Regions from separate parts of the Homo sapiens genome. Here regions 2, 3, 4, 5 and 6 are each linked to region 1. The links are contacts of gene promoters, found by promoter capture Hi-C in blood cells and fetal thymus (Javierre and others, 2016). All regions are on one chromosome and are shown on one strand. Each heading gives the region's core, a stretch centred on a gene start or on the middle of the fragment in contact. The rest is flanking DNA. Distances are from core to core; before and after follow the strand shown.

Region 1 (3,739 bases), core at 205-2,704:
TAGTATGGGCTTGCCACTCCACCTTGCCCAACCTTCAACACAGCCCTGACTGCTTTTTAAACTAATTAGTGAGCTCTTTGGGGAGCAGATTCTACATCTTATTCACTCATCTGGAAGAAACCTCCATCATAATCACTAAAAAATAATATTTGTCCATCTTACTAATGCCCAGAAATTATTTTGGCTATGCCTCCACTTCCTTTCCAGCAGACTACATACAGCCTGGCCAACACGGTGAAACCCTGTCTCTACTAAAAATAAAAAAATTAGTTGGCTGTGCTGGCGGGCACCTGTAGTCCCAGCTACCTGGGAGGCTGAGGAAGGAAAATCGCTTGAACCTGAGAGGCAGAGGTTGCAGTGAGCCCAGATCGTGCCACTGCATTCCAGCCTGGCGACAGAGTGAGAATCTGTCTCAAAAAAAAAAAAAAAGAAAAGAAAAGAAAGAAAATGTCACCAGGTGATAACTACTATGTTGACAACCGAAGTAGTGGAAGGGGGAACAGCAAGGGCAGAGCGGGGTTTCTTGTATAGGCAGGTTGTTTGAGGAAGGCTGCTCTGATAAGCTGGCATGGGAAGCAGTGCAGGATAAGGGAGGGATTTCCCCATGCAGTTATCTGGGGAAGAAGCTTTCCAGAAAGAAGAAACAAGCAGTGCAAAGGCCTAGAGGCTGGAGGATGCTTGGCTGTGCACCAGGAACAGCAAGGAAGCCAGCGTGGCCGGAGTAGGGGGTGCGAGGGGCCTTGCCTGTGAGCCTTAATAAATGTTTATAGGATTCTGATGAGACAGGAAAGCTACGGGGAAGGTCGGAGCAGGGGAGAGTCTGGTTCTTACTTAAAGGAACATTCCAGATGCTGAGGTGTGGAGAAGAGGTAGGGGGTGGAGGTTCAGGGGTGAGGATACGGAGTGGGAACAGGAACTGCGGCCAGGCAATTGGGAAACTACTGCAACTCTCCACGGAAGAGATTTTTAGCCAAAGATTGTTCAGCCAGTCTATGAGTATTTCAGGCCTCCGTATTTTCCATGTGTCAAGCCACTAGGCCTATTCGTCTTCCACTAGACCCCGCCCCACAACTGCTGCCTGGGAAATATTTGTTACTTGCACTGATAAAAATTCTTCACGGGAAGGAAATGGCTTTCAGTCCCCACCCCGCTCCACGATCCTTTCCCTGGATTTGGGGAGGGCCCCACACCCGGGCTGCGGACCTGGGCCTGCTCTCCCAGTGCTGACCCAGCCGGGGCCAGGGGCTTCGGATCAGCGTCCGCGTCCTGAGCTGGGGACGCAGGATTGGCGAGTCCCGCCCCGGCTGGGCCTGCAGCCCCTCGTACGTGGCCCCCCGGCCCCCGCTCCCCGCGCTCCCTCGGCTGCCCCCTGCCCTGCTCACCTGCGCCGCCGCCGCCGCCGCCGCCGCCGCCGGCCGGAGACCCGCGGCTTCGGGAGAGCTGGTTCTCAGTTTCGTTTTCCCCTTGGACTCCGCCTTCCCTGCAGCCGCCCGGCCCCCTCTCGCACAAGCCCTCGTCTGCTACGGGATTGGGGTAAATTGGCGCTGGATCCAGAGTGCGCGCGAGAGGCACTGGCGGGCGGGCTTGGCACCGGCGGGCGGGCTTGGCACCGGCAGGCGGGCTTGGCACCCACGTGCTGCCCCTGCACGGCCAGGACCCTGCACCCCCATCCCCCGCCCCCGGGGCTCCTAGGGTTCTCCGCTGGCCTAGTCCGCTGGCCGCACTAGGTTCTCGAATCAAGGGTTCCACTTACTCTCAACACAAATATTTGGGGTGGGGTTGGGAAGATGGATCTTACCAGCTCCATTCTACAATAGAGGAAACTGAGTAAATGAACTCACCCAGGGGTCCTGCCGCTCGTAAGTGGCAAAGCCAGGATTCAGTTCAAGTCGGGGCCTGTAAACACCAAAGCACTCTTTCCCTCTTGCCACACCGCGGCCCCCTCACCTTTACAAGCCTGGGGATCAGAGGCCTGGGGGCGTAATCTCCTTCACTCCGCTCCCACCCATCCATTCATTCATGAGCAGACACTTGCCAGCCGCTGTAAAAGCACCTGTGGGCCAGTCCTGCTGCTAAATAGAGACACCTGCTTCCTACAGTACCCCAGGGAGCTTCCTACCATAGTCCAACACCAGTAGTCCTCGATTTATAGAAATTCTACTCACCTGATGGACTGCGACACACTCCCAGAGTCACACAGAGTTCCAGAGTTCATTGGCACAGTGACTAATGAGTATTGAGGCACAGAGAATTTGGATTAACACAGGTAGTAAGCAGCGGAGTTAGAATTATAACCAGGAGTTTGTACTCTCAGTATCTTAGCTGGGATAAGAGAGGAAGGTGGTCCAAAGACAGACCTCAAATATACATTAAATATTATGCCTAGGCCGGCGCGGTGGCTCATGCCTGTAATCCCAGAAATTTGGGAGGCTGAGACGGGCGGATCACCTGAGGTCAGGAGTTCAGGACCAGCCTGGCCAACATGGCAAAACCCCGTCTCTACTAAAAAACACAAAAATTAGCTGGGCGTGGTGGCAGGCACCTGTAATCCCAGCTACTCCAGAGGCTGAGGCAGGGAGAATTGCTTGAACCTGGGAGGCAGAGATTGTAGTGAGCTGAGATCATGCCACTACACTCCAGCCTGGGTGACAGAGTGGGACTCCAATTCAAAAAAAAAAAAAAAAAATTACACCTAGGCAGGCATCCTCTCCAGCCTCCCTTCTCCATCCCCCAACAACCCCACATTGCAGGGTATCAACAACTAAAATCTACACTTTCCTTGTAGCTCTGGTCCTGGGCATAGCTTAAGTCCCCTATATGTAAAGCACTGGCGGGAGGTTTAGAAGGTAGACATGAGGCAGAGCCATCTTTTTGTGGCATTTCCAGGTGACAAGAAAACTCTGACAGTGCTGTGTGTCCATTTGTCAGCTTTGTGGGTGTGGGATGGCTGTGGCAGCAGCAATGGCAGTAGCAAGGACAAGTTTTTCTGACTTTTTGAGCCCCTGAACTGCCCAAGAGAGCTTAAAGAATGAAAAATGGCAAGCTTAAGCATGATCAGAGGACACACGCTTTTATGACTGTACCAGAAAACCCTCCTATTTCAGGGAGCCTCAGGGGTGATGTAAAAATCTGCCTTCTCTGCTGGGGAAAGATTTGGAAGGAATGATATCAGAGGGTTGGTGATGAGGTCCAGGGGAATGATATGATATGGGTGAACCTCTTGGAATGGGTAAAGTGTGAGCATATTGGACTCCCTGAGGAGCCCAATTCCCTACTGTCTGGGCTCTCAGCTGCAAAGCTTGGTGCTGCAGGCACCAGAATTACAATATAATTGTTTTGAGACAGAGTCTTGCTGTGTTGCCGAGGCTGGAGTGCAGTGGCACAATCTTGGCTCACTACAACCTCTGGCTCCCGGGCTCAAGCAATTTCCCTGCCTCAGCCTGCCAAGTAACTGGGATTACAGGCGTGTGCCACCGCACCTAGCTAATTTTTGTATTTTTAGTAGAGAAGGGGTTTCACCATATTGGCCAGCCTGGTTTGGAACTCCTAACCTCAAGTGATTCCCCCACCTCGGCCTTCCAAAGTACTGAGATTACAGGCGTGATCCACCGCGCCCAGCCTAGAATTACAACAAAAATTTTCATTTGCAGCCTCATCAGGTCTCTTCTGTGAACACTGAGGGCATTGATTGTGAAAGAAAGAAGCCCTGGGAATTTGGGTGGATTTGAATGAATCCAAG
Region 2 (4,332 bases), core at 428-2,927, 720 kb after region 1:
ACTGGGGCTCCCAGAGGATGGGCCACCCCGTTTCAGTGCATGGCCCGGCGCCTCTTTAGAAGAGGAAGCCCCTGGATTCCAGAACGTGCTGGCTCCACCCAAGGCAGACGGCAGTGAGGCCACACACTATTCCCAGCCCCTTTCTCTCTGAAAAGAGCCCTTTGTAACTTCTTTGAGAAGGAAACACCTCCGTCAGGGGAGGAACATTATTTGCTTCCTGTTAGAACAGACTTTTACTTAGGATCAAGCTCGGTGTCAGCCCCATCCCCACAGGGAGCAATAAGGGAAAGAGGAGGGAGGGGGCCGCAGACACTCACTTGTGGGGGCTGGTTTCGCAGGAACGGCTCCGGAGAGCTTGAAGAGGGGTAGGCTGCAGGCCCACAGCCGCAGTCTCTCTCAGCTAGAAACCCTCCTCCCTCCTCTGCCAGCCTGTCCTCCCCGGGCTCCGTTCGAAAGGCCTGGGAGATAGGGAGAAGGCTGGTCAGCCTGGGCGGTTAGTGGCTGGTTTAACACTTCCTTGCCTGCCAGCCCTTTCCCAGGAAGACTACAGCCAATCATTCATTCATTCAAAAGCTCTTTGCCAAGCACCTACTCTGTGCTAGGTCTGTGCCCAGCATGGGGACACAGTATTAGGCAAAAAAAAAAAAAACAAAAACCAGACATCCCCCATCTGCCCTGAACTTACAGTCTAGTGGGATAAATTAAACAAGGCACGCAAACACCTCTACAGCCACAAATGTGATAAGGCTCTAAGTGAATATCGCACATGACAGTGGCCCTGCTGAAGGCCAGGCAGAGGTTCCTTCTTGAGGAAGGACGTCTCTGAATCTCCAGAAGCCAATAGAATCTGTAGCAGCAGAAGAAAGGGTCAGGTTTCTAGAACTGCCCACTACGACTTTAGAAGCTGACGCATCTCTGTTATGCCGCGGCTGCGATGTTTTAAGTCCCCAAAGCCCAGAGCACATCGTGGAGCATGGAAGTGGTTCACTGAGAAGCTGAATCTAGTCCTGGGGCTGCTGGTGTGGAGGGTGTGTTCCGCTCTTGGGGCAGCAGCAACAGGTGCCGTGAGAGGCTCAGAGCTTTTGAAGCAGAAATGGCAATACTCTACATCTTCAGCAAATATTTGGGAGTCTTTTGTTAAAAGAAGAGCAGAATAAATATCTATGCCTCTTGTAAAACCCAAAGGAAAGCTCTCAGATAGGCTTCTTTAGGGCTATGACTATCTCTGCAGCTTCACTATACTGAGTTAAGTCTGTAGAGCATCTGTAACCCTAGGCATGTGTGTCCACAACCTCCACACGTACACAAGGACACTCCTACAGAGGACAGGCCGTGCGGACAGTTAGGGGAGGACAGTGGAGGCCGCTTCAGTTCACTTCGGTGCTTTGGATTCAAGTGTTTTTCTGTTTCATTTTCTGGGTAGCTGATTATTAAGCTAAACACTCCTTTGATGGTTGAAAATACATTAGTCCCTTTTCTTGCACGAATCTAATTCACCAAAGCCTATTAAAGTGCTTTTGGACCAATGAGGAAATTTAATGCTCAAGTATTTTATTCTGAATTCCAATTTTCCTTGTGTTATGATTTTACCTATAGGTGGTTGGGTTGATTGTATGGTAAAGATGAAAAAAAGCATATTTGGAAAGAACATGACAATTCTCAAGGTGTTTATACTACTTTACTGTATTTGATCCTTGCAACTGCCATGTGAATTAGGCAAGAAATATTTCAGTTTTACAAATGAGAAAACTTCTGTCCTGAGACATTAAGTGATATACTCAAAGGTCATATAATAATTTGTTTTGTTTTTATCTTGACTACCATACTCCTCTATACCACCTTCAGGACTCTGGAAGTCAGATATATGTGAGTTTTTTGTCAACTAAATTCATAGTTGTCTTAATATTCATCCCTTGCTAAAATTAAGGTGCAGAAATAAAATCTGTCTAATAGAGAAATATAAATCCATCTTTTGTCTGGATAATCAAATTTTACTATATTTTGTTTTAATCCTGAGAATGAAATTTTACAAATAGCTCAGGAGGTTTTCCCTAGAGTTCCAAATAAAAGTGTGTGGATCATATACACGTTCTGCTTAATCACATGACGGTTCCAAATTTTTAATTTCAATCCTTCATTACGATGAAAATTTTTGCGTTTTTTTTCCACCAGCTCTTTGTTTTGTTTTTCAATGGCTCAGGAAAGGAGAGGGGTGTGGGAGACTCTGTCTCTTTTGACAATCACCAGCGCCATCTACTGTCAAGAAATAAAATCGTGACTCATTGTTAACGCGTCAATGAACATTAGGGCTTAAAGAGGGAAAGACAATTTTATACCCCAGTACTTACTGATAAATATAAGTTCATGTACACATATTTTTATCTTATATTATTGTATTCTTAAGCAGCCTATAGGGAGAATACAATGAACTTAATATATAATTATTTATGTAATTCTTAAGAGCACTAACTTTGGAAGAGGATAAAAATGGGGTGAATTTCAGCTAAACCACTTAATAGCTACGTGATTTCTCTTACCCTCAGTCTTTTCATCTGCAAAATATGAACAATTATACTTAGAAGGTTGTTTTCTTGATTAAATGACATATGTAAAATTTACCCCAAAGCTAGCAGATCAAGGCAGCTATTGTTATACGACATTTATGGAGCACACGCTGGATATCAGCCTCTGCTGGGGGCTTGCTTCACAGCAATCCTGTGAGCTGGAGAGGCTCTGAGCTAGCAAGTACTGTGTCCAAGATTACACAACTAAATGAGAAGCATTTTTAAGTCCAATTTTCCATCTGATTTCAAAGTTGTTATCGTTTCTGCTATCTCACAGAGCATGGCTATGAATCCCCTTCTGATACATATCTGTGAAGGTTCATTTTAGGCCCACTAGGGAAGATCTGCTTTTCATATATTTATATGGGCTCCATCCTTTGTGGTCTGATGTGTGTAGCTCATTGTAGGGATGTGCCAAGTTTGCCTAACCACGCTATAGTTAAGAAAGTAACTTCAGGAAGACTCAAAGGATTTTATATGCAACCCTGATCATAACCCAAGATGAAAAGGATGATAAACCTTTTCATCTTGGGTTATGATCTACCACCCTCACAGCATTTTATACAGAATTCTCTGATACTGTTACCTACCATGTGATCGATAGTTTTGTTTTTTCTTTTCTTTTCTTTCTTTCTTTTTTCTTTTTTTTTTTTTTTTTAACAAAGCTGTCTCTCTTTCTGGAATAGAATTCCTCAAGGGCACAACTCATGCTTGATAAATCAATGAATAGATGAATGAAAAGTGATTACGTATTATAATCCCAGTGTGAAGTGATGAGGCCTTCACAAGGCCTTTGAAGATAAGGACCGTAAATTCTCCCTACACCAGCACGTGGTGATTATCCATCTGAGATTTACTGACTTCAGTTGAATCAAGTTGGCTAAAAGTTACCCTCAAGATACTTCTTTAAAGACAACCCACTTCAGAGTGCCAGTCTTTCCTCCTACACTAAATCCAAAGAGAATTTTTAAAATTCAAATTTATTCTCTAGAGAATTTAAGATTTTCTTGAGATTCAACAATAATAACAATTATAAACAGATAAAATGCATATATAAGTCACAAAATTGTATTGCTAAAGTGGATTTTATTTTTATTTGAGATGGAGTCTCGCTCCTTCTCCAAGGCTGGTGTGCAGTGGCATGATCTCAGCTCACTGCAACTTCCATCTCCTGGGTTCAAGCAATTCTCCTGCCTCAGCCTCCTGAGTAGCTGAGATTACAGGCTTGCATGACCACATCCAGCTAATTTTTGTTATTTTTAGTAGAGACGGGGTTTTGCCACGTTGGCCAGGCTGGTCTCGAACTTCAAGAGATCCACCCACCTCAGTTTCCCAAAGCGCTGGATTACAAGTGTAAGCCACTTTGCCTGGCCTAAAGTCGCTTTTTAAATCAAGGGTTCTCGCTGTGTATGGTGGCTCACACATGTAATCCCACCTCTTTGGGAGGCCAGAGGTTGAGCAGGAGGACCACTTGAGCTCAAGAGTCTGAGGCTGCAGTGATGAGCTAATGAGCTTGAGCTATGATGAAGCCACTGCACTCCAGCCTGGGTGACAGAGTGAGACCCCCCCATCTCTAAAAACACAACAAAACAAAAAAAACCTAAGAGTGCTCTGTCACTCATCTATTAAAAAAAAAAAGGCAACCTCACCGAAGTGTTTTGAGTATTAAATAAAATAACATATATAGAACACCTAGCAGAGTGCTGACTCACCTCATTCTTTCACTCAAAAATATATTTCCAGAGCTCCTGCCATGTGCCACATAGAC
Region 3 (4,141 bases), core at 24-2,523, 690 kb after region 1:
AAAAATGACCTCCTGCTATTTCTTATCAATCATGCTCTTCCCCATCTTAGTTAATGGCAGCTCCATCCTTCTGATAGTTCAGGCAAAAACCTTGGAGTCACTGTTGACTTCTTCCCCTCCCCTTGGATCTGAAAATAAAGCTCTGGAATCAGGGCAGTTGTTCCACTCAAATGAATAAAATGGTATGAACACAGAACAAAGGGAGCCTATGTTCTGTTAGGAAGGGGTAAGAGAACAAATAAGTGTGACATGAAACTGAACATGCCACATGGGAAGCTTAAAATGCTATATGGGTTGGAAGGTGGGAGAGCTAATGCCTAGAAATAGAGATTCTGATAGGCATCTAAAAGGCACAGGCTTCTGAGATGTTCTGAGATGTTCCTGAAAGTTGTGTATGATTGGATTACTTACAGTGGGGGTGAGTGGGAATTCCAGGCAGAAGGAGCAACTGAGCAAGACCCACATCTTCACAGTTAGCTCTGCCTTCCCCTGGAGTAGGACTCTTTCTGCCTACCCTGGCAATATGTCTCCTGGGAGCCCTTCGTAATGCCTGGACCCCAATTCCACCCCATCTTACCCGCCAACATAGATCAAATCACAGTTGCTCTGTTTCACCAACATTAACTTCCAAATTGTCTCTCACAGGCTTCCCGCTCTCAATTCATGTTACCCCCATCCCAGTCCACACTTCCTCTCCTATGTTGTGTCTCATTGCCTATCTCTTGGCCTTTGGGCTGCCTCCCCCTCTGTCCATTCTGTTCACTGCAGCCAGATTGACGGTAACAGCGATGATGACTCTTTTGAACAACATGTAAGAGCCTATTCTGCACCACGCCTTGCTCTCAAGGAGGCTTGTAATCAAGAAAAAAAAAAAAAAAAAAAAAAAACTTGGAAACATCTACAGGATACAGATGTTTCTATAAAACTTAACATAATACAACTGGCACAGGAGAAAAAATGATAAATTCTATCAGGGAGGGTGGGAGCAATTATAGAAATCACTCAAAATTTATATGTGGCTCCTCATCATCTGTAGAATTAAGATCTTCCATAACATGCCCCTAGCTACCCATTCTGCTTTGTTACCCCCCCAGTGCCCTTCATGTACCCCGCCTTCTAACCAAAGTGCTCTGTTTGCACATGGGCCCTGAGCCTTCCCTCTCCATGCTTGTGCTCTTGCTGCTCCATCTGCTTGCAATACAAGTGCCCTACCTTGCGTGTGTAAATGCTACTCAGTATGTAAAACAACACAGTGCCCTGCACATAACAAACACTAAATAGTGTCAGTCGTCTTCATCATTATCATCATCATTATTCTGGAAAGATTAGTTCAATTCTCACATCTCTTAATTTTTAAAGTCACTTATGGTCTTGCTTGTGTTGCAGACATACAATCTTATTTCCTTGCCTTTGAGGGCAGGGAGTGAGTCACATAAGATTATCTTCCCCTTTGGCAATAGAAAAGTACCTGGCTACACGCTACCATTAGCCAGGTACTTTTTGATTGCCAGAGGGAAAGATAATGGTGAATAGTGTGGAAAATGCTATTTGTTTTATCTGTTTTATTTCAATTCATTTCCCACTTATTATAAAATGAAATACTTAGAAATGACTCTTTTCACTTGTTGAGTTAAATGGCCATAAATTGAAGACCCAATCTAATTCAAATAGGATGGAGTGAACCTCTGAACTTCCTCAAAGAATGCCTTAAAATACAAAATGATTGAGTGAGTCCAACCTCAAATCACAGCTGATTCAAGATACCCTTTCTCCGTAACACAACTTACACCCAACAGTTGACTGGTTTAGTCAGAGGCAGTCACCCAGGGCTTAAACAGCCTGTAAAAAGAAGTTGTAAGGAAATCTGAGTATGTCAGTTGGATGTGGTTAATAGGGAAGAGGGTGTTCTGGATGGGGAGATATTGAATGACAAGGGTGAGAAGGATAATCTTCTGAGTGGAAAGAGGACAGGACACTCACTTTAGTTGGTGGCAGCCCCTTCTCCTTCTTCCCCCACTTCTAACATGGCCCCTCCCTATGTCTGCTCTCAGAATCCAAACCTTCTCCTTGGCTCTGCTTTATGAACAGTGTGGTGTTTGAGTTCTGTGTGTTGGATACAGTCAGGTCAACATAGCTTCAAGTCCTGGCAGCTTCACTCCTTCTGCAGTCTTGTACAGATCTCTGCTCTTACTGCAAGCCCACACTTCATAGGCATACGAAAATAATATACCCACTGGAGCCATCTACCATGAGTAGAAGTAGGATATGGCCAAGCTTTCATTCACTTGAGGAAGTGATTAGTACATGTTTCCCAGGCAAAACTCATAGTATTTGTTTCAGAAATTTAGATATTTTAACTTCACATCCTTCATACCCACCCCTTTTGGTTTCTTCTACCTAAATTTTGTGCAAAGACTTAAAAAATATCCACCCACCTCACCCCCATCCCCACACTCCCTTGTACTCTTTTTCTTGGCTTGGAAATTTAATTTTTTTTCAAAGCATGCTCCACTCTAAAATATAGTACATAGCGGAGATGGCGCTACGTAGAGAAAAGGTCATGGGCTTTGGGGCCACATAGCCTGGATTTAAATCCTGGCTTTGCCACCTACTTTCTAGAACATAAGAATGTGAGGTACAGATTGGGGAGCCCCCTTCCCTCCACCAATCCAACCCAATGCAAGGTTGGAAAGATTGCTCATAGCTAAGAACAGAAGGTGCCACACCGTGCCACAGAGTTTCTAAGAGGGAGTGAACCAACAGCACCTTTATGATGACTTCTCTCTCGTCTTTATTAAGGAAATGAGAGAAAAGAATAGAAAGTTCCCTTCCTGTGCAATCAGTGACTCCTGACTTGCCCCACCCCACCCCACCACCACCACCACTTCCCTCAACCTCCCATCTTAGTCAGGTCCTGGCTCAGCTGAGCACTAAACCACTGAACTGACAGATAGCCTGATGATGCAAGGGTATGGGAGAAAGTGGAGCAGAAAGGGTGAATGGGAGGTTGAGGGGTCAGGGAAGACAGCTTGGCTTCTTACCACTCAATGGAGGAACAAAGATAGAAACTTTCTCCATGTAGGTCAATCAAGAAAATAGTGTAGAAAGTAGCTGAGACCTAGGCCATCATGATATGGTCACTCCAAAACCCATCCATCAAGGATGGTGAAAAGAGACGGTGGTGAAATGGACTGAGGGGCGGACTTCACATGTGCAGTGAGGGTGGACAGGTGCTTCAGTGAGTTCCCTCCTTCACCACTACCAGCCAAAGAACCAATCCACGAACCCAGAGGAAAGCCCACCTATGCAACCAAGAGGTAGCACATTTTCTGTGGGTCAAACAACAGAAGAGGAGACTGAGCCAAGACAATCTGCCCACCACTGACAAACAGGCAAACACACAGGTAACTCCTTCCTCTATCACCTGCCCCAGGCACCAACATCAGTGTTGCTAGGCCTAAGACATAGATAGGATGGAGAGAGATGAGACCAACACTGTAACAATCAGACAAGACTACAAATCACTGAGTCATGCTAAATGTATTTGATGCACTGAGATACCTTTTTATTTATTTTATTTTATTTTTTATTTATTTATTTAATTTTTGAGACAGAGTCTTGCTCTGTTGCCCAGGCTGGAGTGCAGTGGCGCAATCTTAGCTCACTGCAATCGCCGCCTCCTGGGTTCAAGCAATTCTCCTGCCTCAGCATTCCAAGTAGCTGGATTACAGGCAACTGCCACCACGTCTGGCTAATTTTTGTATTTTTATTAGAGATGGGGTTCCACCATGTTGGCCAGGCTTGTCTTCAGCTCCTGACCTAAAATGACCCACCCCCCTCGGCCTCCCAAAGTGCTGGGATTACAGGCGTGAGCCACTGCGCCTGAGATACTGTTAAAACTCAGTTTTACATTTTCCCCTCCAGCTAGTGTGTCTAAGGTAGACACTGGTCAAAACTGTTGATATTCATTATTTGGAAATATAAAAGCAGTCGGTGCTTGTCTTTTCCTGATGTGGCGCATTTCTCAACCAAGCCTGCCTGTTATACTCTCTGTACAACCCTGGCCAAATTCTTTAACCTCCTGAACTGCCTTCCTATTCTGAAGATCAACCCATCTCACAGCACTGCAGGTTAAGAAAGC
Region 4 (4,157 bases), core at 1,532-4,031, 670 kb after region 1:
GTTGAGGATTAAATGAGATGATGTCCAGTGCCTCATTGAGGTAAGTGTTGTCACAGTCTCACTTGTGAGGCTAGTAGACTGGATCTCAGAGGTCAGATAACTTTCCCAGGCACTGGCCTAGGAATGGGCTCAGCTGGAATTCAGACAGAGGCAGGCAGACCCCAAGGTCCCTGCTCCTCCCCACTGTGACTCCTGCAAGTGGTACAGACCCATGTTCTGGGCACAGGCATTAAATGGTCACAGGACTATGCTCAGTCTGTCTCACTTTTTATCAGAGAGTGAAGGAAAAGGTATCCAATCTATAGGGAGATGCCCTGCAGATAGCAAGGCCAGCACTTCATGTCCAGTCTTTCAGAGCTTTGTCAGACAGTCGATTTTCCCTTTCTAATGCTGTGACTGGGATGAGAAGGCAAAACAAAAAGAATTAAAAATATAGTATTTCTTTCCCTACTTGGCCCAAAGGAAAGGTTCCGTGGGAAGTTGAAAAACAGATGGTCCAGGGCAAAAATCAACAAGTTTGACATCCAGGATTAAAAACCAGATGGCACTAAACAATCTTTAGAAGCCTCTAGAGGGGCTTCAAAGAAATTGCCCAAAACTCCATGTATGTTTCCATGAAGGCAAGTAGACTTAGTCATACATGATCTTATGATCTGTGGCCAGGTTCTCCTCCACCCAAAATTGTTCCCTGGGATGGGATCAAGCTAAGCACTTTGGGAAAGGAATGGGACCTTTTAGGCCACCAAGAACAGAGAATCCTAACATCTTATGGCTTTAATCAATGCAGTTGTTTCACTGAGTTGACTGATCAGATTAGGCAGCCGCCTCTAATCTTCTCAGGCAGGTCAAGGCTCATAGAGAGCCCAGCATTTGAGGAAACATAAATGTGGTTTTTAGTACGTATGCTGTTAAAGTCCCAGCACATAAACCTCCAGAAGTCACACTTCTCCGAAACCAGTCAGATGTAGAGGCATCTGAATAATGGCTCTTGTAGGGAACCCTGTTCCTGCTTCCTGTTCTTCAGCTGCTTGGAAAACATTGCTGGAACACTGGGATCCACTGAGGGAGATTCTTCCAGAAGTGTCCTGTGTCCCAGACTGTGACTTTTCTAACCAGCATGGACACAGTTGAAATCTAAGCTCCACTGCATCTGCTGCTGCCATGATAGAAACACTGGCATAGCATGTGCTAGGTACCAGGCCCTGGTCTAAACCAGTCACCTATGCTAAAGCACTTTATCATCACAGTGACCCTGGGGGGAGGGTGGTCCTTTGAGGGGACTGATTCATGGAGGTTAAGTAAGTTGGCCAAGGTCACTCAGGTGGTAAAGAGTGTATTAGTTTCCTGTGGCTGCCATAACAGAGTACCACAAACTAGGTGGCTTAAAACAACAGAAGTTTCTCTCTCATAGTTCCATAGCCCAGATATCCAACACTAAGGCATCAGCAGGGCTGCACTCCCTCCAAAAGCCCCAGGGAAAGGTCCTTCCTTGCCTCTTCCAGCTTTTGCTGGCACCAGGCATTTTTGGCCTGCAGCAGCCTCACTCCAGTCTCTGCCTCCATCTTTACTTAGTCTCTTCCGGGTCTGCAACTTCTTCTGTCTCCTATAAGGAGACACTTGTCATTGGATATAGGACCCACCCTGATAATCCAGGATGTTCTCATCTCTGAGAGCCTCAATGTAATTACATCTGCAAAGACCCTTTTGCCTAATAAGGTCACATTCACAGGTTCCAGGGATTAGGAGATACATGTATCTTTTGGGGACCACCATTCAGTTCACTACAGCTGAGCAGCTGGGATTTGACTCAAGCAGTCCAGCTCCAGCACGTGGCCTCCGACCATCACGCCATGCTCTCTCATGTGGTTACTTTTCACAGGTGTCAGCAAAATGCCTGCTCAATGATCTGAGATTTTTTTTCACAAATCATCACAGAGCTGAAATGCTCATTTTTCTGTGCTGCTACTCTGTCCATGTTCCAGAAAGGCAGCACATTAAGTCTACACCACATCACGCATCCCCTGACAGATGGAGAGAATATCAGCAAATCAGATTGCTTTCTAAAGAAAACAGAATCCAACTTTGCAAATGTTTAAAGCTTGCATATTTTCAAAATTTCAAGCAAAAGTAGAAAACCTCATTACCTCAGATCACGGTTGACAAAACTACCATTGACAAAGAATTATCCTACATGCAATGAAAACCCAATATAAGACAGTGAGTGATTGTCCAAAACGTGGGTGTTAGGTCACTACCCAGACAACAGCAGAGTTGACGGTTCTACCCTAGCTCTCTTTTGATGAGGGAAAACATTATTTTTAAATGAAGCCTGCCACTTCAGTGTAGAAAACATAAAGATGTGGACAGTCACCATTGTCATTTAAAGGGTGAGCTGTATTTCTTCTGAAGTAAAGTGATGAGTCCAGGCAGTACACTCACTCTATCAGATATGATTTGAAAAGCTGAAAAATAAACCTCTGACAATAAGATTTTAGGACAGAAATGCTGCCAGGGCTCGAAGTACATTTCAGAAGAATAAAAAGAAAGTAAACGATGCCAAAGGCCAGACAAACAAAAGGAAAATTCCTACTTCGTTTGTTCTCATGAAATGCCACAGAAAAATAATCTGTTAGGCAGCTCTTCTGGAGTCCAAGTTCTTGCGCTGTGCTCATCTCTTCTTTCTGTTAAAGCTCGGTGCTTTGCAAGCTGTCGTTAAATTGCTTACACGGATGGACGGGGCCAAGATGGTTTTCAGTCTAAAGCCAGTGAGAGTCTCAAGGCAGATTCTGAAGGCCTTGAACCACCTGAGCCTGGCCAGATGGATTCTTCCTTTCACTGTTGTGACCATTGCTTTGGTGTCAGAACCCTATGGGAGAGCTGAGTCCATGACCAGAATCCTCATGCCTTTCACAACTCCAATTAGCCAAGAGCATGGCACGGAGCAGAGGTGCTGGTGGGAGAAAACAACACATAGGTGAAAAACCTCGGGATTAGGCATTTCAAACAAGAGGCATTCATTTTGCCCGACACCCAGAGTTGCCCCATAAACAAGCCAGAAACTCAACCAGGCGGTGACGGAACAAGGAATGGATGAGTGACAAACTGGGCTGTTGATTCTGTTGTAACTGAGGCTTGACTGTATTAACAAGCATGCAGTGATTAAACAGACCAGCACCAGAATTTTAGCAGCTACCTTGAAGCCTGCTGACTGACACTGTCCCTGGAGCCCCTGTTATAATGAGGTCCTTGTGATAACTTACTCCCTTGGATAGAGTCCAAGACAGGCACGTGCCCTGTGGAATTCCACACTGTAACCAACCATACTTCAGAGAGATTCCAGAATAATGATGGTATTGCTTATTTAGGCTGAAGGTTATCTGCTCCTCCTCCTCCAGATCCCTGCCAGCCAAGGGAAGAGCATCTCATTGGTGTCAGATGACAAGGGTCTTGTTCCCTTTACTGGAATAAGCTTCTTATGTCATACAGACTCTGGAAGTCCTGAAAAGCCATCTGTCTTGGCCTTTACTTTAGGAAAGAAAGTATCATAACCTGCCACAGCAGTGGGGACAGCTGAAGCCGGGGGTTACTATTCGCCCTTGTTACTATTCATGGAGGCTCTTAGGGAAATGACCAAAAAGCTCTTTATGGCTCTTGCAATTAATCCTGAAATTCTGGTTGTCACTTGTGGGTAGAAACATATGGTTTACAAATGGGTTGATGATTATTATTTCAAGGAAAAACTAAAACATTATAATGAGAGTTATAACATAATGGTGGGACAGTATAAATAGGGAGAGAATTTGTAGTGTTTTCTTGTTCGTTTTGTTACATGAATAGACAGCTAGGGGAAAATGGCATTCTATGGGGAACTGATGGGATTTATTTAATATTTATTTAAATAAATTTATTTATTTATTTATTTAGACACCTCTTTTTTCCCGTCTAAGTTATAAACTAATTAAGAGATGGACAAAGAATAAGGTAAAGGAAGGTCAAAATATTACCTTGGGCAGGGTGCAGTGTCTCACACCTGTAATCCCAGCACTTTGGGAGGCCAAGGCAGGAGGATCACTTGAGTTCAGGAGTTTAAAATAGCAACATAAGAAGAATCTGTCTCTCCAAAAAAGAAAAAGAAAAGAAAAAAAGGAGGTGAGGTG
Region 5 (3,842 bases), core at 1,343-3,842, 770 kb after region 1:
CCAAGAGTTAGGAACAGGTTGTCAAAGGTGACAGTTTTCACTTCCCAGTTGGGTGATCACTGGGTAAGTGACTTGACACCTGTGTGCCTCAGTTCACTTATCTGCAAAATAATAATAGGACCTGCATGGAAGAGATGATTTGGAATTGGTGCAGTTCCTAAAGAAAGGGCCAAGCAAAATAAGACTTTCCCACCTGCTGAAACCTGGTCCTGTCTCAAGAATAAGTTCTCCTTCCTAGGTAGATTTTTACTTCTACTTATTTGCTTATTAAATGAAAATATTTTCAAACTAGGCTATATTTCTTAATGTAAAAGTCCAAGGTATGGGCAAAAGAAAGCAATCAGAATAGGAAGATTTCCTTTAATAGACCTCTATATCAGCGAATGGACATCCTGCCTGAATAATTTTATTGACAAAAATAAAGATGATTAAACTTGATGTGTGAATATTAGCTGGAATGCAGTTGTAATTAATGGGCATAGAGTGACTTATTTTTTTGCAATAAGCTTTCAAGATAATTTAGTTTTGTGATACAATTTTTTTGTAGAATACATTTACACATCTAGCAATAATTAGCTACAATTTCAGCTGAAGTTACAAATTGATTGGAATCTGTTGCTGGCATGTCTCCTGGATGAGCTGGGAGTGGGCAGATGGTTATAGTTCCCAGTTATACCAATTAGGTGAAAAAAAATTTTTTTAAGTTAATTCCAGGCAAATTTCTGTGAGGTAAAGCAGGCCAGATTAAGTACCAAGGCTTTCTCTGGAATCTTTGGTTTAAAAGAAGGAATTCTTAAATCTCTTGGATATAATATTCACTAACACCTGAGGTAATTTCTGGAAGATTATTTTAAAGTCAGTCCTTCTCTTTGACACTTAGGCCTGTAATGAAGTGTAGAACATCCAAACAGGATACTTTCTGTGTTCCAGGCATATACTCTAGTGAAATAGGAATCCAAAGACGTTCTTATTTTAAGCAGGCTTTTCAGAAATAGATTATGGCTGCTTGTTCTCTCAGACCCTCTTCCATAGGGCATTTGCGAGCCCAGAAATCCTAACCAGTAGACCACCAAGGAAGCATTTGAAACATTACATTTAGTTGGCCATTTGAAGTGTAAGAAACAATGCTTGGTAGAATATGTGGAATCACAGGATATAAAGCAGAGGATGGTGAATTTCGGGTATACAACCTAATTCAGAATTTTCATCTTACTGATATTTTTTCCCCAATTCACACTCCCAGCTATTTACTTTGCTTCCTATCTTCACTTCCTATCTTAGAACAGTGAAGCAATCAAAGAGAGCTTGCATAACCTCCCACCACTGCATCTACCCACCTATTTAAATCTCTGCTCACATAATCTGCCTTTTATGACTATGAATGAATGGTTTATGTTCCCATCAAAGGTCAACTCCTGTGCTTGTGCGATAGAGCCCACCTCCTTTGCCTTCTCAAGTTTATTGCTATGCAGTTTTCTATATGTCTACTTCATCAATTTTTCTTTTCTTTTTATGGACTCTTTTCTGTTGGCAAAAAAAACCTGTTATTTCTTGATCTTTTGGCACCATTTTCGCACTTAATAATGGCGTAATTTCTCTTCTATTTGTTTTCTATTTGCCCATCTGTTCTTTTTTCTCCTTTTCCTGCCTTCTTTTGGACCAAGTGAGTATCTTTAGTGTTCCATTTTTATCTCTATTATTGTCTTGATATGTATTGCCTGGGGTTTTTTTGTTTGTTTGTTTTTTAGTGGTTATTCTAGGGTTTACAGCTATGCATCTTTAACTTAATATGATAATTCTTCATTGTAATCTAAGACTCTTACAACAGTATACTTCCATTTGTCCTTTCCCACCCTTTGGGCTATTGTCCTACTTTTTGTAAATCCTGTGATGTAAACTTGGCTTTTGTTGATTGAAAAAGCACCTATATTTTTGTCTTGGACAAAGACATAAACAACATTCATTTACATTTATGTTTTTAATTTTAGAAACGAAAACCAAGAAATGCCTTATTCCACAAACAAAGAGTTGATACTTGGCATCATGGTGGGCACTGCTGGAATCAGCTTGCTGCTCTTGTGGTACCACAAGGTCCGTAAACCAGGGATAGCAATGAAGTTACCTGAATTTCTTTCTCTGGGTAATACATTTAATTCAATAACTTTGCAAGATGAAATACATGATGACCAAGGAACAACAGTAATCTTTCAAGAAAGGCAACTTCAGATACTGGAGAAGTTAAACGAATTACTGACAAATATGGAAGAACTCAAAGAGGAAATCAGATTTCTTAAAGAAGCTATTCCAAAGCTGGAGGAATATATACAAGATGAACTTGGAGGGAAAATAACTGTTCATAAGATAAGCCCTCAGCACAGAGCGAGAAAAAGAAGACTCCCCACAATTCAAAGTTCAGCAACAAGTAATAGTTCAGAGGAAGCAGAAAGTGAAGGAGGGTAAGTTTCTTTAAGATATTTCCTATGTTGAATTGGTTATTATCATTATTACTATTATTTAGGTATTTTCATTATGGGTTCCAGTCATATATCCTGCTGCTCACATAAAATGAAAAGGAGTGATATTTTGACTTAGATTATAATTAAAGTCATATTCAGTAGTCAGTATTTAAGCTAGTTTAGACCATATTGACAAAAGGAATATAAAAAACTTACTGGTAGCAGGTGGTATTATGTGAATATTGAGGAAGGCAGTAATTACTTGCCAAAGTGTATAACCTACTGTTTTAATGTAGCCACTCTGACTCCTTCTGAGAATTCTCTAGACCACTCCTGTTCAAAAGAACTTTCCGCAGTGATGGAAATGGTCCAAGTCTGTGCTGCCCAATGTGGTAGCCACTAGCCCCCTCTGGCCACAAAGCACATGAAATGTGGCTAATGCAACTGAGGAACTGAATTTTCCTTTTATGTCATTGAAGTTGTAATTTTATTTAATTGTAATTAAATTTAAATAGCCACTTGGGCTACTGGCTACTGAATTTTAGTGCAGGTCAAAAAAGACTTGAGAGTATATAGGTGACTCTGTCTCATCTTTGCATGGGTTAATCCAGTGGCTAGGTCTCTTTTCTTTTCTTTTTTTCCTTGCAGAAACCCTCAGCTCACCCGAGGGCCAATGGAAATTTATTAATTTTTTTGTCCTTTTCCATCCTTCCCCAAGTGGCTTTTCCTTGCAAAATGCCTGACATGACACCAGAGGGGAACCTGGGAGCGAGGGGCACCCCAAGGGGCAGCCCAGGGACTTAAATACAAGCTGGAGGGCAGGGCGCAGGTGGGACAGGCAAGAGACAGCACGAGGGACATGGCTTCTCAGGGAGACCAAAGACTTACTTTCTTGCAGGAAGCAGCCGTGCCAGAGGGCAGGGGACTAGGATCCTGGGTGCAGAGTGGGTGAGCAGAGAGGCCCCCAACCCTGGATGGAACCCACATTCCCCAAAGAAGTAGCAGCAGGGGATGAGGGCCTTCCCTGGTGGACTCCAGAGACAGAGGGGAGAGTGAGCCAGATGTGCTGCCTCAGGGAAAGGGAGGAGGTGCTAGCAGAGTGAGGGTTAAGGCTGGTGCCCAGCCTCTGGCACGGTGGGCCTTCCGCCTCCGCCTGACATGAGGACAAAGGGGCACAGTGGGCAGGCAGCGCATGGGTCTGTCTCTGGCAGGGCAGAGGGCGGCAGGAGCAGACTCCCTCCAGGCTCAAGACACAGGCCCAGCGCTGCTACCCACCCACCCACCCGCCGACTAGGTCTCTTTTCTGAGTCACAGTTTCAAATGATTTAAGATTATTTTAGATTCCTTCTGAATATTTTCCTTCCCTATTTTAAAACCAGTCAACAA
Region 6 (4,048 bases), core at 1,522-4,021, 760 kb after region 1:
ATGTAAGAAAAGAACAAATGGTCACAATATATTGTTGAAGAATCAAAAGGTGGTTGATTAAATTGTATGAGGCTATTAAAAATATAGACATTTACATTATAAATATTATCCCTGTAGACATTATACATTTTATTCATATGACATATGTGAGCACAGAAAGAAATGTCTGGAAGGCTGGGTACCCAAATATTAATTATTTTTACTTTTTGGTAGCAATTTTTATCTTCTTAATAATTGTGTTTATTTTTACAATGAGCCACATGTCCTTTATCAATCTCACAAATTATAATAAATATCGCAAAGTGTGAAAATGTGAGAAATACTTCGTCTAGTATGTTTTAGAAACATTTTTCACTTTGTTCCTGTTATTTTCTGCTTTTATATTTTTTTAGTCATATGTGTCACCTTTTTCTTTTTTTTGAGACAGAGTCTTGCTCTGTCGCCCAGGCTGGAGTGTAATGGTGCAGTCTTGGCTCACCGCAACCTCTGCCTCCTGGGTTCGAGCGATTCTCCTGCCTTAGCCTCCTGAGTAGCTGGGATTACAGGCATGCACCATCATGCCTGGCTAATTTTGTATTTTTAGTGGAGACAGGGTTTCTCCATGTTGGTCAGGCTGGTCTTGAACTCCCGATCTCAGGTGATCCACCCGCCTGGGCCTCCCAAAGTGTTGGGATTACAGGCGTCAGCCAGCGCACCCAGCCATCACATTTTTCTTTATAGCTAATGTGTTTCATGCCATTATTAGAAAAATCTTCCTGCTTTTGATTAAAGCTTTAAAAAATTTTTGTCTAATTGTATGGCTTAATATTTTATGGCTAAATCTGTTGGTGTAGCAGAGTAGGCATCCATCTAAAATTTTTTGTATGAGGCTAGTCAGTTATAATTTTGCTATTTCCTAAGTAGTTCCTCATTTTCCATCGGTTTCTAATGTCTACGTCTACATCTGGGTCTATTATTGGGCTCTAGTCTTTTCCATTAATTACACTATCCTTGCACTGGTTCTAGTAAATTTTAATACTTGCACTGGTTCCAGTAAATTTTAGTACTTGGGAGAGCTAGTCCAATTTCATTATTAATTTTCAGACTTTTCCTGGTTACTGTTACATTTTCTTCTTCCAGTTAAACATTAAAGTTATTTTGTCAAGTGGACCAAAATGAAATGTTTTTGGTTGAAAATGTGTGGATTTATATAAGGAAACATAGCATCTTTAAAACAGTGAATCTTTGTGTCCAAGAATATAGTATGGCTTTTCATTCATTTCAGCCTTCCTTTATGTTTCTCAATACGGCTTTAACTTTTTCATGTAGACCCAGCACATTTTCTATTACTGTAATGAGGCTCCATGGTACAGTGGATACAAGCAGGGACTCTGGGGCTAGACAGGGCAAATTCCAGCTCTAGCACTTCCTGGCCAAGTGACCTTGGGCAACTGCATAGCCTCTAACCACCTCAGTTTTCTCATCTCTAAAACGGGAACAACAGTACTTATATCATAGGTTTGTTATGAGCATTAATAATACGTTGTCTGTTACATGGGAATCACTTAGCAAAGTGTCTAGTTCATTGCAGTCGTTATCATCATCATAAAGAAAACTTTACATAACTGTATGAAAAGGCTAGCAACCAACAGAAAAATTGTTGGTGAGCATTTTAAAATTGTGCAATATGTGGAGGGTAATTAGGCAATAACTACCACAATTTTAAACACTGATCTCTTTGACTCAGGAATTCCAGTTCTAAAAATGTTACCTACATATTTAAAGAACTAAATTGTTAATACCCTCCAATAAAGACCATCAGGGACACACCTGTAGCTGATTGTGGGTTGTCTCAGTAAGATGATATTAGAATGAGCAGATTATAGAATTTGGGTTTTAGTTGGATAGTTTTAGAGAGGTTCCACAGAACACTCTTGATACCGTCAGAAAGGAAGCAATTCAGTCATTGGGTATCTCAGTAAATCTTATCTATAGGGAAGGCAGGCAAGAGCTAGGATAAAGCTGTAACTAGTAAAGAATTAGCAGTCACTCATTTATTAAGAGAGGCAGGTGTTTGGCATTTTGTATTGCACAGCATCCTTGTCAGAACTGGATGTTCTATGAAAACAGTATGGGTTAGCTATAAGCATCACATTAGTTTATAATAACATTGAGGCCTACTACATCAGATCTGTTCCTGGATGACAGGCACTGATTTTATTTTTTCTTTCTTGTAATGTACTTGCAATGAGTCATTGTTTTTCATAGCCAGTGATGGAAATAACTTAGAGGTCTATTAATTCAGAGGCTAGTTAAAAATTACGGTATATTCTCACAATGAAATAGTTATCAAAATGAACTAGTCATTAAGTGAAAAAAATTGCAGAACATTATATGGTTTAAACAGTATATATAACATACACACGTGTTTATACATCATAGAAATTTGCATTCATATGCAAAAATATTGTACACTCAAAATCTTAACAATGTTTACCTCTGGAAAGCAGGATCCAGTGAAAAGGACAGGGTGCTTTATCTCTTTAATTAATGTACTTCTATTTGTTTTAAAATCTAAATGCTGAATTATTTTATTGATAAAAATGTCTTTAAATTATGATAAGCAAATATGGCTGGTTTTAAATTTTCAGTAACGGAATTCTTCTTGATTTGAAGTGCAAGCAATCCCAAAGCTTGCTCATGAATGCTATTATGTTGTAAAAATAAATTAATTTAATTTGGCCATTCCTCCGGGGACCTATTTGATTCAGGTAACAGTTCCCAGAGAATGCTGACAAGGAGATAATTTTTTCCATCTTTCCTTTGGGTGTAATATTAGCATTGGGGTTTCTGAAAGTCATTAAGGTAACTAATTGCTACTGAATTATATATTAAGCTTGGAAGAGAGTGAATCCATTCCTTCTTCCTATACAGATGAATATCAATAGTCATAAGGAATGAAAACCAAGACAACTGGATTTTAACAGGGAGGTGAGTCAAGTTCTTATGGTGAACTCCAAATATTTCAGAAATAGAGTCCTCTAATGTCAGTTCATTTATACATATGTAACACTGTGATGGTTAATATTGAGTATCAACTTGATTGGATTGAAGGATGCAAAGTATTGTTCTGGGGTGTGTCTCTAAGGGTGTTGCCAAAGGAAATTAACATTTGAGTCAGTGGACCGGGAAAGGCAGACTCACCCTCAATCTGGGTGGGCACCATCTAATCAGCTACCAGCACGGCTAGAATAAAGCAGGCAGAAGAAGGTGGAAAGACTTGACTTGCTGAGTCTTCTGGCCTTCCTCTTTCTCCCATGCTGGATGCTTCCTGCCCTCGAATATCAGACTCCAAGTTCTTCAGCTTTTGGACTCTTGGACTTAACACCAGTGATTTGCCAGGGGCTCTCAGGCCTTTGGCCACAGACTGAAGGCTGCACTGTCACCCTCCCTGCTTTTTAGGTTTTGGGACTTGGGCTGGCTTCTTTGCTCTTCAGCTTGCAAATGGCCTATCGTGGGACTTCACCTTGTGATCATGTGAGTCAATTCTTCTAATAAACTCCCCTTCATTTATACATATATCCTATTAGTTCTGTCCCTTTAGAGAATCCTAATAAACACATGGAATGAATTTATTTCTCCAAACTGCTGTCAATTATGCTCTATCAAATTCCCTTTTCCTACTGCATGGTGGGTTTCCTTGACCATGTGTCAGCCTGACTCCAGTCAGGAAATGTATGGAAATGTAGCCCAGTCAGCATCTCAATCATCTCAATCTCCAGTTCAGCAGCTCTCTCCCCTCACTCTAGATCAGGTTAGCCATATTCTCCATCACTCCTCTCCATCTTCACTGTCTTCACCTTCTCCCTTTCCTGCTCCTCTGCTATCAGTGCAGGTAGGAGGAGAAGGAGAAAAGACGGTTCCTCAGGTGGCTGCCCAGGGCATGCCGGGTGCCCTGTTTCTGGTTGGTTGCGATGCTCCCCTTAACCTGAAGAGTTGGGGATGGAGGTGGTCAGTGGGGGCATTCAGGTCCTGTATCCTTTCTCTTAGTCAGCACAGCTGATCTAAT

What was found. The method cuts DNA at HindIII sites, captures the fragments that hold promoters and counts their contacts. A CHiCAGO score of 5 or more calls a contact.
Region 2: a contact is called between a fragment that was not itself captured here and the fragment with the promoter of EIF2AK2 in region 1, in 4 of 17 cell types (activated CD4 T cells, neutrophils, total CD4 T cells and 1 more). The highest score is 6.2, in activated CD4 T cells.
Region 3: a contact is called between a fragment that was not itself captured here and the fragment with the promoter of EIF2AK2 in region 1, in 2 of 17 cell types (total B cells and M2 macrophages). The highest score is 6.0, in total B cells.
Region 4: a contact is called between a fragment that was not itself captured here and the fragment with the promoter of EIF2AK2 in region 1, in 3 of 17 cell types (activated CD4 T cells, naive CD4 T cells and naive B cells). The highest score is 6.4, in activated CD4 T cells.
Region 5: a contact is called between a fragment that was not itself captured here and the fragment with the promoter of EIF2AK2 in region 1, in 3 of 17 cell types (fetal thymus, activated CD4 T cells and neutrophils). The highest score is 6.1, in fetal thymus.
Region 6: a fragment that was not itself captured here is called in contact with the fragment with the promoter of EIF2AK2 in region 1 in 1 of 17 cell types (naive B cells); the score reaches 5.1 in naive B cells.

Annotation. Positions count from the first base shown.
Region 1 is chr2:37,155,526-37,159,264 of GRCh38, forward strand. It overlaps EIF2AK2 (eukaryotic translation initiation factor 2 alpha kinase 2), which reads right to left and starts at 1,455. Exons shown (of 17, transcript NM_001135651.3): 1 at 1,383-1,455. RefSeq lists silencers at 1,245-1,364, 1,565-1,754 and an enhancer at 1,385-1,514. The HindIII fragment of the contact is 2,417 bases long and covers 625-3,041 here.
Region 2 is chr2:37,875,426-37,879,757 of GRCh38, forward strand. PIRAT1 (PU.1 (SPI1) induced regulator of S100A8 and S100A9 alarmin transcription 1) reads right to left here and starts at 438. Exons shown (of 4, transcript NR_110012.1): 1 at 318-438. The HindIII fragment of the contact is 8,395 bases long and covers 1-4,332 here.
Region 3 is chr2:37,847,215-37,851,355 of GRCh38, forward strand. The region is part of intron 2 of PIRAT1 (PU.1 (SPI1) induced regulator of S100A8 and S100A9 alarmin transcription 1); the gene reads right to left. Among named protein-coding and RNA genes, the nearest start is that of PIRAT1, 27 kb to the right of the region's middle. The HindIII fragment of the contact is 1,998 bases long and covers 275-2,272 here.
Region 4 is chr2:37,824,929-37,829,085 of GRCh38, forward strand. It overlaps PIRAT1 (PU.1 (SPI1) induced regulator of S100A8 and S100A9 alarmin transcription 1), which reads right to left. Exons shown (of 4, transcript NR_110012.1): 3 at 4,005-4,110; 4 at 1,319-2,950. Among named protein-coding and RNA genes, the nearest start is that of PIRAT1, 49 kb to the right of the region's middle. The HindIII fragment of the contact is 1,371 bases long and covers 2,097-3,467 here.
Region 5 is chr2:37,927,274-37,931,115 of GRCh38, forward strand. RMDN2 (regulator of microtubule dynamics 2) reads left to right here. Exons shown (of 11, transcript NM_001170791.3): 2 at 1,989-2,456. The coding sequence starts at 2,005. Among named protein-coding and RNA genes, the nearest start is that of RMDN2, 3.9 kb to the left of the region's middle. The HindIII fragment of the contact is 4,176 bases long and covers 505-3,842 here.
Region 6 is chr2:37,910,065-37,914,112 of GRCh38, forward strand. No RefSeq gene overlaps it. Among named protein-coding and RNA genes, the nearest start is that of RMDN2, 13 kb to the right of the region's middle. The HindIII fragment of the contact is 203 bases long and covers 2,671-2,873 here.